Linked DNA regions of Homo sapiens: regions 2 and 3 are each linked to region 1. Evidence: promoter capture Hi-C in 16 types of primary human blood cells and fetal thymus (Javierre and others, 2016). All regions are on one chromosome and are shown on one strand. Each heading gives the region's core, a stretch centred on a gene start or on the middle of the fragment in contact. The rest is flanking DNA. Distances are from core to core; before and after follow the strand shown.

Region 1 (3,145 bases), core at 310-2,809:
AACCCCCAGAAGCACCAGAGTTGCTTTTAAGAGAGCAGTTGGGTGGGGGAGGGGTGTTGCAGGTGAAACTGGGCTAGGGGCTTGTGCTTTGCCTCCGCAGCCAAAGGGTTACACCGAAGAGGGGAAAGCCAATTAGGAGAAGGGAGGTAAAATAGAGGTTTGGGAAGGAAAAAGGATGGGAGAAAAAGAAAAGATCGTTTAACCCTTGCAGAGGCGCCTCCTTCCTGAGCATGAAGATCCTGGCTAGAGGAAGGGTGTGTGTACCGGGGTGAGAGGGCAGTGGAGCAGAGAATAGGGGTAGAGGAGAGGGGCGTGTGGGAGAGAACAGGAGAAAGGAGTGGTTACATTATCTCAGCCCCCAGCCCACCCCTGCTGCAGTCGGCAAATCCGTGGCGCCCTCCCCTCGGTTCCATCAAAGGTCCCTTCGGTCGAGGGGCAAGAGCCGAGAGAAGGGCAGGTCCGGGCGGGCGAGTGGCCTCGCCTTCTCCTCCTCTTCCTCCTCTGGGTCGCGGTCGCCCTCCTCCTCCGGCTCCGGGTCGGCCCGCGCCCGCAGCTGCTGCTGCGGCGGCGGAGGCGACTGCTGCTCGGCGTCCGGGTGTCTCCGGGGCGGGGGCTGCTCCGGCTCGTCCTCTGGCTGCTGCCCGCCGTCCGGCGCGGTCGCGACTCCGGCCTTCATGATCCTCCTCCTCCTCCCCCTTCCCTGGGGGCCAGCCCTGAGCCCCCGCGCCCGGGCAGCGCTGCCATGCAACCAGAGGCGAGGCCGGCGTGGGGGTGGGGGCGGCTGGGGAGTGAGGAGGGGGAGTAATAAAAAATGAAATAATACTAGTGGAATAATTCGGTTCTCAGGCAAGAGTGCTTCTGGAGGGTGGGGGCGGAGGAGGGCGGCTGCCGGGTCTGCTCGGCAGCTCTGCCCCCGCTACCCCCACCAAGGGCGGCCTCGGCCCGCTCTCTGCCCCCCCACCCCGCCCCTTCCTCCTCTCCACCGCCTCTGGCTGGCTAGGCTCGCTGTTGCTACCTCTCCTCGCAGATGCAACGAGGTAAGGCTTGTTTGCGGTGCCAGCTGAAGGTGGGGAGGGGGGAGCGAAGCAGTGTGGCCGAGGTGGGAGGCAGCCGGCACTTGGCTCCAGCTTGGTCCTCGCGACTCCCCAAAACCGTATATAAATATATCTCTTATAAAAGCCGAGAGGAAGCAAATCAGATTCCAGGCTGCTGCCAGGTGTTGTCTCGTCTTCCGCCGTTGCTCAGCACCCGCCGCTGCCCCCACTGGCTCGATTCCCAAAGGGGTGGTGCTGGAAGGGAGGTGGCGGGGCGGCGAGCTGACCGTCCGAGAACTGGAAACAAGGTTCTTGCAGCGAGGGAGGCTCTCGGCTATCTCCGCCGCCGGCGCCGCGGCCGCCGCTGCTGCATTCAGCACCCCGGGCGAGTGGACAGCTCCCACCCAGACCCCGCGCGTCACGCTCGTGGGGGCCTGACGCAGACGCCGCGGAGGGATGGAGGAGGGAAAGGGGATGAGAGGAAAAGAAGCTGGAGGGAGAGGGAGCAAGAGGAGGAGAGAACTGTGCGAGGGAAGGGGATGGGGAGGGACCAAGGGAAAGGGAGGTAACCAGGAGAGGGAGGGATTTAGGAAGGGAAGGAGGAGGGAGCGAAGTGAAGAGTAAAAGAAAGAAGGAGAAAGGCCACGGGGAGGGAGGGGAGCGATTCAGGCACTAACTCTTGCATTTCACCTCAGCAGGAACGTGTCGGTGTGGAAGGTCTGGTTGTAGACTCTCTGCCCACTGTCCACTATCACAGCTCCTCTCATTGCACATACAAGACACAGACACCTGTCAACCAGAGACCGTTTCTCTGTTCACATAAACATTTAAAGTAGATCTCAGTCTGCAAGCTTTCGAGGAGATAAAGTTTTGTGACTTCCACAATGAAGCTGGGACTTGATGGAGATTAAATTCCTCATGACTAAGGAAATGCTTGAGACATGAGACATGAGAAGGAAATGTTTCATTGAGGCTTGAGACATGAGAAGGAAATGCTTCAAATTTTCAAACAGGGAGGAGGTTGCTAGTACCATTTTTTTGTCAGCTTCTTCGCCTAGAATTTAAGCTCCAATTGACAGAGATAATTTTTTTAATTCATTTGATCCCGTGTGCCTAAGTCAGAGATGGCATCTAGTAAATGTTCAATGCATATTTGTTGAATGGCTTGTGGCCACCATCACCACAGTCATCATTACTATAAGTCACAGTGCTCTTTCAATTGTGAGTCATAAGAATCCAGAGCAATATTTCAGCTTCGTCTTCACCAACATCCCCAGCCTCCTCCCTATTCAAGCCTTTCACTGAGCCGCTGACAAGAGGTAATTTGAAATGGATTTTAATTTCCTCTCCTATTTCTGCTACTGACTCATGTCACCCTACCCTATTTTTCTCAAGGAGTTTCTTGAGCAGCAAAGTGCCCCTAAATGTGAAGAGCAAGAAAAAGAAGGAAACTTAAAGTGGTCTATATAAAACCTCAGTGTTTGCAGCTGTAGACTTTGGTCACTGAAAACTTAGGATTGCTTTTTTTGCCTTTCCTTATAAACCTCTCTCCCCCACCCCGCTCTCTCTCTCTCTCTCTCTCTCTCACACACACACACACACACACACACACACCCCTCTAGGGCCATAGAGAAGATATGCCAGTGATTCATCCAAACAGCCATGGTAATGCCTTTACAAATATTGGAGCCATAGACAGAGTAGCATGCAAAATTTCTGCAGCAAAATATCATTGGAACGAAGTTCAGTCCAATGAGTCATAAGAAAACTACCCCTTTGCTGCCATCTCTATGAAATGATTCATTCCTACAAGCTCTAAGGAGAAAGGACCTACATCTCAGTCTTGGTTAACCCAGCATGGCTACTTGTCTGAATCATGCCCCAGGACTCACCATGGATGCTGAGACCCAGCCCAAGGTGCTCATTTAAAGATGATACTAATATTTTTAATAACTACAAAATAATATTTATTGATTAATATCAGCACAAATACTGTGCAGCAACAAAAAACCTCTTTATTTCAAAAATTCTATTTGTTCTTCAAGAAAATATTTTGTGTTCCACATCACTCTGTATCTGTTTCTGGTATTGCAGAAATCATAGTCTATATA
Region 2 (3,145 bases), core at 359-2,858, 100 kb before region 1:
TTATCGTGGGGGAGATTACAGGACACAAGAAAAGCCCACTCATCTCTCTTCCTCCTTCTTCATTGGCAACCTTGTCCCCAACACAAGTACCTGCTCTTTCATCTCCTGACTCCCCAGCCCTCAGTCAAGTCATTGTTTATAGATGAATGACATGCCAGAGGTAAAAAGCACTCTAGAGACCAAATGATTCTCATACTGGTGCCTCCTCTCCAACCACAGAGAGGCACTCTCCTTCCCTGCAGAATTCCCCACTGTCAGACAGCTATGGGGTGAGGCTTAGTAGTGTCTCACTCTGAAGCCCTACCATTGCCAACCACCCATCTTCCAGATTCCACTCCTCCAGTGCCCAGCCCTGTTAAGAACCTGGACCAAAGCACATATCAGGGAACGGTTGAAAGAAATGAATATAACCGGCTATTTTGGGTGAGTTCAGGGGGTACTGCTGGGAAAGGCCAGGTTGACAACATCACTGCCTGCCCAGTATTCTCCAGGGTGCAGCTTTATACTGGACACAGGTATGGCCAGGCTACACGTCACATGAGCTATTATAAAATTACAAAGCTTATTATAAAGTTACCATAAAGTTACAAAAGTAGTTTATTTAAGTAAACATGCCAACACCTTTCTATATCGAATCAGAGTTTTGTCTTTTAAAATCCCAAGGATTGCCCTTTGGAAATAGGGTATTTACTCCTATTGGGCTATCCCAGTTCAGAACATTTCTGGAAATTGCTCAGTGGGGTTGGCCTTCTGTGACAGAGATGGCTAACGGTCCACTAAAATCCACACTCCCTTTCCTTGGTATAAAGTTGCCACTGAGAAGTTACATTTTCTAGCTTTTTGCACCAAGGTGAGACCAGGTGACTAGTACTGAATGTGACCACAAGCCAGGCCAGCATTTAAGAAATGGGTCTAGGGAACACTCATTCCATTTGATTTTATAGAATGAGGTTTGCCCAATAAAAATAAAAACAAAGAAAAAAGAAATGGGTATTGAGAGAAAACTTGTGCAAGGCTGGGGCAGAAGACGACTTCTTCATGCTCTGTTTAATTTTCTATTAGCTGGAGGCAAAAGACTCAGCAGCCCAAGGGGCCTGTGGAGCCCAGAGATGGAAGGAGTTTGGGACTCCAAATTGCTGTGTGGAAGAGAATCTCCTACTGCTCAGGAACTTCTATTGGGTTAAACCACTGACACATAGGGGCTTATTTTTTTCTATCTGCTGAAGTTACCCTAACTAACATACCTATAGCTCTAGGTTAGGGACCACACAAGAAAAGAAGTTTGTGGCTTGATGGCGTGTTTCATATTGTCCCCAAAATGTATTAGCTGGCTTGAGCTTCCACCTTATTTATCAAATTGGGGCTATTTCTAGTCACAAACCCACTGCCAACAGACAGGCCACTCCTGAATCTGTTCTGTGCCAAAGACAGTTCCCAAGAAATATTCCTAAAATATGTTGAGCTTTGTCAGAACAACTGGGATAAATGAAATGCCTCTCGAGGGGTCTCTTTGGAAAAGGACAGTGCATCTGCTTCTAAATCAGTCATCTTCATCTCTAAGCAACCAGCCACTTGGCTGTGGAGATTGGTGGCCGTCACAGGAGGCCCCGGGTGGGTGGGAAGGAGTTAACACGGAATCTAGAAAACCAGATAAGCTACATGCAAGTAACAGAACGTGGATGGGCATCATCTCGCCAGTTTCTACAGCTGCTGCTTCTCATGTCAGTTTTGTGGCCCAGCCCAATATTGCTGGGGATGCCCCACGGTCACAAGTGTCAGCCTTTGCAAGCCCTGGCATCTCAGTGTGGAGGTGACATCAAAATCCTGGGATGTCAGACCTGGAAGGAACCTGGAGGTTGTCGGTTTCACCCCTCTCATTTATAGATGAGGAACTAACTGTAGAGAGAGGGAGTAACTTGTCCAAGGCCATAGAGGTGATTAGTAGCCGATATGGTTTGGCTGTGTGTTCCCACCCAAGTCTCATCTTGAATTGTAATCCCCGTGTATCAAGAAAGGGACCTATAATCCCTACATGTCAAGGGAGGGAGGTGATTGGATCATGGAGGCGGTTTCCCCCATGCTGTTCTTGTGATAGTGAGTGAATTCTCACAAGATCTGTGTTTGGAAGTTCCTCCTTCATTCTTCTCTCTCCTGCTGCCTTGTGAAGAAGGTGCCTCCTTCCACTTCTGCCATGATTGTAAGTTTCCTGGGGCCTCCCAAGCCATGTGGAACTGAGTCAATTAAATCTCTTTCCTTTATAAATTACCCAGTATCAGGGAAGTCCTTTATAGCAGTGTGAAAATGGACTAATATAGTAGCTATTCTGGTCTTCAGACCTAGATCTGCTTCCTAGTTTCTCGTACTGCACTAGGCTGCCTCCAACAAATGTTCCAAGTTTCCTAATCAGGAAATTAAAAGGTTTTACAGGTAGAGTCATTTCTAGCTAGGAGGAGAGGAAGGAATTTTTGTGGCATATGTATGTTTTGTAGTTAACGTGGGTTAAAATTAGGTTTGAAAGAAAAATGTTTGTACAATCCTGCTGCCCCCATCCTCTGCCTATTTGCTATAAAATGAGATTTAAATTCCTTCATCTCAGAGGACAGGGGCCAGGCATCTTTAAATCACTGAAAAGAACCTCAGGGGACCACACACAGAGGAAGCTTAAAAAAAAACAAAACTTTCTATAATTTTGCTGATTACCATATTCTACTGTTTTAAAGCTTTGGAAATAATCTCAGGAACATTCCTTTCCTTCCTTCCCCTGACCCCATATCAATCACAAGTTAAAAACAAACATGATGAAGAAGAGAGCCTCATTTTTGCAGAGTTGACTATTTGATGTCCAATCTCTTACATCTGTGGAGTTAAAAAAATGTTTTTTTGGTGCCAAAGCCCTTAATTAATTTGCTCTTGTTAAATCCTAATAACTTGACCCAGTGGAGCAGAGAATACCCCATTTGTTTGCTGGGAGGCTCTGTCAGCTTCTCTGCAGCAGAGGACAGCGTCATTAGAGATGACAGAAGAGGAGGCAGGTGGAACGAGGACATTAGATATAATCAGATCTTCTCATTGAGGGGACATAGGTGAGGGAACAAAGAACCTTCAAGAAAAAGCACTACTCCAAATAAGAGCAGACTTTTAATGA
Region 3 (3,145 bases), core at 276-2,775, 85 kb before region 1:
CCAGCGAACCATTCATTTTCCTTTAGGGAGAAGAAAACCCCAAAAGACAGCATAGGGACTTGCTTCTGGCATTACAAATATTAGAAAGCAAGGATGGTCCAGGTGCAGTGGCTCACGCCTGTAATGCCACACTTTGGGAGGCCGAGGCAGGTGAATCACTTGAGGTCAGGGGTTCAAGACCAGCCTGGCCAACATGGCGAAACCCCATCTCTACAAAAAATATAAAAATTAGCTGGCCATGGTGGCATGCTCCTAAAACGCCAGCTACTCGGGAGGCTGAGGCAGGAGAATTACTTGAACCAAGGAGGCAGAGGCAGAGGTTGCAGTGCCAGCCTGGGCGACAGAGTGCAACTCCATCTAAAAAAAAAAAAAAGAAGAAGAAGAAAATAAAGCAAGGACAACAAACTGTTAGAAAAGTTTAACTTTGATAAAGGAAAAAGGAAGTGATGATTGGGTATTTGCTGTGGGGGTTGGGTGGAATCCAGAGAAACGAGCTATTTTAACTCTTGCATTCAGGCAAATTTTGTAGGTTATGATTTAGTGTATTTCTATATACATTTCGGGGAAAGCCCATCATCTTTTTAGTGTTTAGGGCTTCTAAAAAGCTTTCACAGGGACTCTTTGCCAACTACTGGTCAGACCTGTATGTCTCCAAGAACAACAGAAGTGGAAATGAGCCAGATGGATTCAAGCTAAACTTAGGAAGACGCTCTTTGCAGTAAGCTCTGTTAAAAGCTACATGGACACTGAGATGAATTCTCGCCCCCTCTACCCTAGTAAAATTCTCTCAATATAAGAGATATCTCTGATTGAGGAGAAAGGTTAAATGACTCACTCAAGGTCACACGGGCGTCAGACGCTGAGCTTCACCACCCGCTGTGCTCATCCACCTTCCATCCTCTGGATCCTGCTGCCCCACCTGCACCTGTGCCTGTAAGTCTCCCCTTCTCCAGGTCCCACCCCAATTCCTGGCCCAGCTCAGACCCTCAGCCAAGTCTCCCACCATCATCCACAGTTTGGTACTTCACCATTTTCAAATGCTCTGGGATTAGAGCTGCTCCTACATACCCCCTAGAACTGAGCACATCAGCGATGTACAATTAAGGCGTGCTTACTAATTGAACAGGCCCTAGGGTATGGGAAAGGAAAAGCCCCTCTGGTCCAGCTACTGCGGCTCCAGCATTTGGGCTGGGAGGATTACTGTGATCTTGTTTGCAGAGCTCAGCAAACTCCACAGATCAAAGGGACTCATTAAATGCAAAGGGCACCAGACACTTCCTCAATGATCTGCTCAGAGTGCTGGGGCCAGAGACTGCCCTGGGAATGACTAAAACAAGAAAAATGGGATCTTCTCTAATCATCTGGCCCCCAAGGGACACACTGTGGGGGAGTGGTGAAGAACATGGTTTCATTGTTCAATTCCCAATGAGAACACGTGGACACAGGAAGGGGAACATCACACACCCGGGACTGTTGTGGGGTGGGGGGAGGGGGGAGGGATAGCATTAGGAGATATACCTAATGCTAAACGACGAGTTAATGGGTGCAGTACACCAACATGGCACACGTATACATATGTAACAAACCTGCAGGTTGTGCACATGTACCCTAAAACTTAAAGTATAATAATAATAAAATTAAAAAAAAAAAAGAACATGGTTTTGGGAAACAGCCGCTTTGTTTTTGAGTGTCTGTTCACCAGCTGTGCAAATTTAGCCAAGTCTCTTAACCTCTCTGAGGCTCCATTTCTTCATCTTTCCGTTGCAAGTAACTCTTACCTCCTCAAGGGTAATTGTAAGGATTTTTTTTTTCCTTTGAGACACGATTTCACTCTGTTGCCCAGGCTGGGGTGCAGAGTAGCATGATCATGGCTCACTGCAGCCTTGAGCTCCCCAGGCTCAAGTGATCCTCCCACCTCAGCCTCTTGAGTAGCTGGGACTACAGGCACATGCCACCATGCCCAGCAACATGTATTGTACTTTTTGTAGAGGTGAGATTTCACCACGTAGCCCAGGCTGATCTCAAACTCCTAGGCTTAAATGATCCTCCGGCCTCAGCCTCCCAAAGTGTAGGGATTACAGGCGTGAGCCATTGTGCCTGGCCTGTAAGGGTTAAATGAGATCATATATGCAAGAGTTTGACACAGTGCATGGCACAAGTAAGTCCTCCTGTTAAACTATTACAATTCTAACTCACATTTCTGTAAGAACTTTAATTTCATAGTTTTTTCTTCTGCAACTCTATTTCCTACTGTCACTCTAAGACAGGTGAAATAGATAAGGAAGGGAACGACCGCCTAAAGAAAAGAGTCAGTTGAGTCACCAAGAGCAGTAAAGATTAAAGAATTTTCTAAGAGACTCTGCCCTCCTGGGATGGATAAGGGACCCTGACTTCTAGCCCAAGATTGTTCCTTATGTCACCTTGGGGACACTGGGAGCATCTGGGGAAGCTTCTTTTCAGGGGATGCCAAACAGAAGAAGAGTGCAGGCCTCTTGCATGGGTTAAGTGGGGTCGTGCTAGAGGCAGGAGGCAGGAGGCAGGAGGTGACCCTTTTAGCCTTGGTTGTGATGGAGGTGGTGGGAGGGAGAACAGATGTATTCCGCTCACTGCAGTGGGAGACAATAATATGCCTCCCCAAAATACGAAGGCGTGTTGAGCTAAGACAATTAAGAAGCAGCAGATTTAGGAGAGCTCTCTGCTCTTTCTCTATTTGCATAAAAGCAGGACATAGATTTACAAAGACAAAAGTTATCCTGCCTCTCCCTCTCCATCAGGAGAACAAAGGTAAACACTGAAGACAGCTTTAGACCCTCATCAGCCTCCAGATGACACCAGAGGAATTTATATATATCTATATATGAAAATATATAAAAATTTATATATATATAAACATATATATATATATATTTATTTTTATTTATTTATTTTTTTTGGAGACAGAGTCTCGCTCTGTCACCCAGGCTGGAGTGCAGTGGCACGATCTCAGCTCACTGCAAGGCTTACTGCAATAGAGGAATTTATATTAACGAGCTTTACTCACTGAAGTTCTTTTGCCCTTTGTTTTCTTCCCCACCCGCCCCCCACCCAAGTTGCTGCCCATAGAGACTCAAAGTCCTTTTCCTTTGTCTTGCCACTTCTCTAAAAA

Evidence for each region. The method cuts DNA at HindIII sites, captures the fragments that hold promoters and counts their contacts. A CHiCAGO score of 5 or more calls a contact.
Region 2: a contact is called between a fragment that was not itself captured here and the fragment with the promoter of MARCHF4 in region 1, in 2 of 17 cell types (endothelial precursors and total CD8 T cells). The highest score is 7.4, in endothelial precursors.
Region 3: a contact is called between a fragment that was not itself captured here and the fragment with the promoter of MARCHF4 in region 1, in 1 of 17 cell types (endothelial precursors). The highest score is 5.9, in endothelial precursors.

The regions. Positions count from the first base shown.
Region 1 is chr2:216,370,924-216,374,068 of GRCh38, forward strand. MARCHF4 (membrane associated ring-CH-type finger 4) reads right to left here and starts at 1,560. Exons shown (of 4, transcript NM_020814.3): 1 at 1-1,560. The HindIII fragment of the contact is 3,541 bases long and covers 1-1,883 here.
Region 2 is chr2:216,266,370-216,269,514 of GRCh38, forward strand. The region is part of intron 3 of MARCHF4 (membrane associated ring-CH-type finger 4); the gene reads right to left. Among named protein-coding and RNA genes, the nearest start is that of MARCHF4-AS1, 35 kb to the right of the region's middle. The HindIII fragment of the contact is 2,099 bases long and covers 560-2,658 here.
Region 3 is chr2:216,286,162-216,289,306 of GRCh38, forward strand. All of the region lies in intron 1 of MARCHF4 (membrane associated ring-CH-type finger 4), which reads right to left. Among named protein-coding and RNA genes, the nearest start is that of MARCHF4-AS1, 16 kb to the right of the region's middle. The HindIII fragment of the contact is 1,844 bases long and covers 604-2,447 here.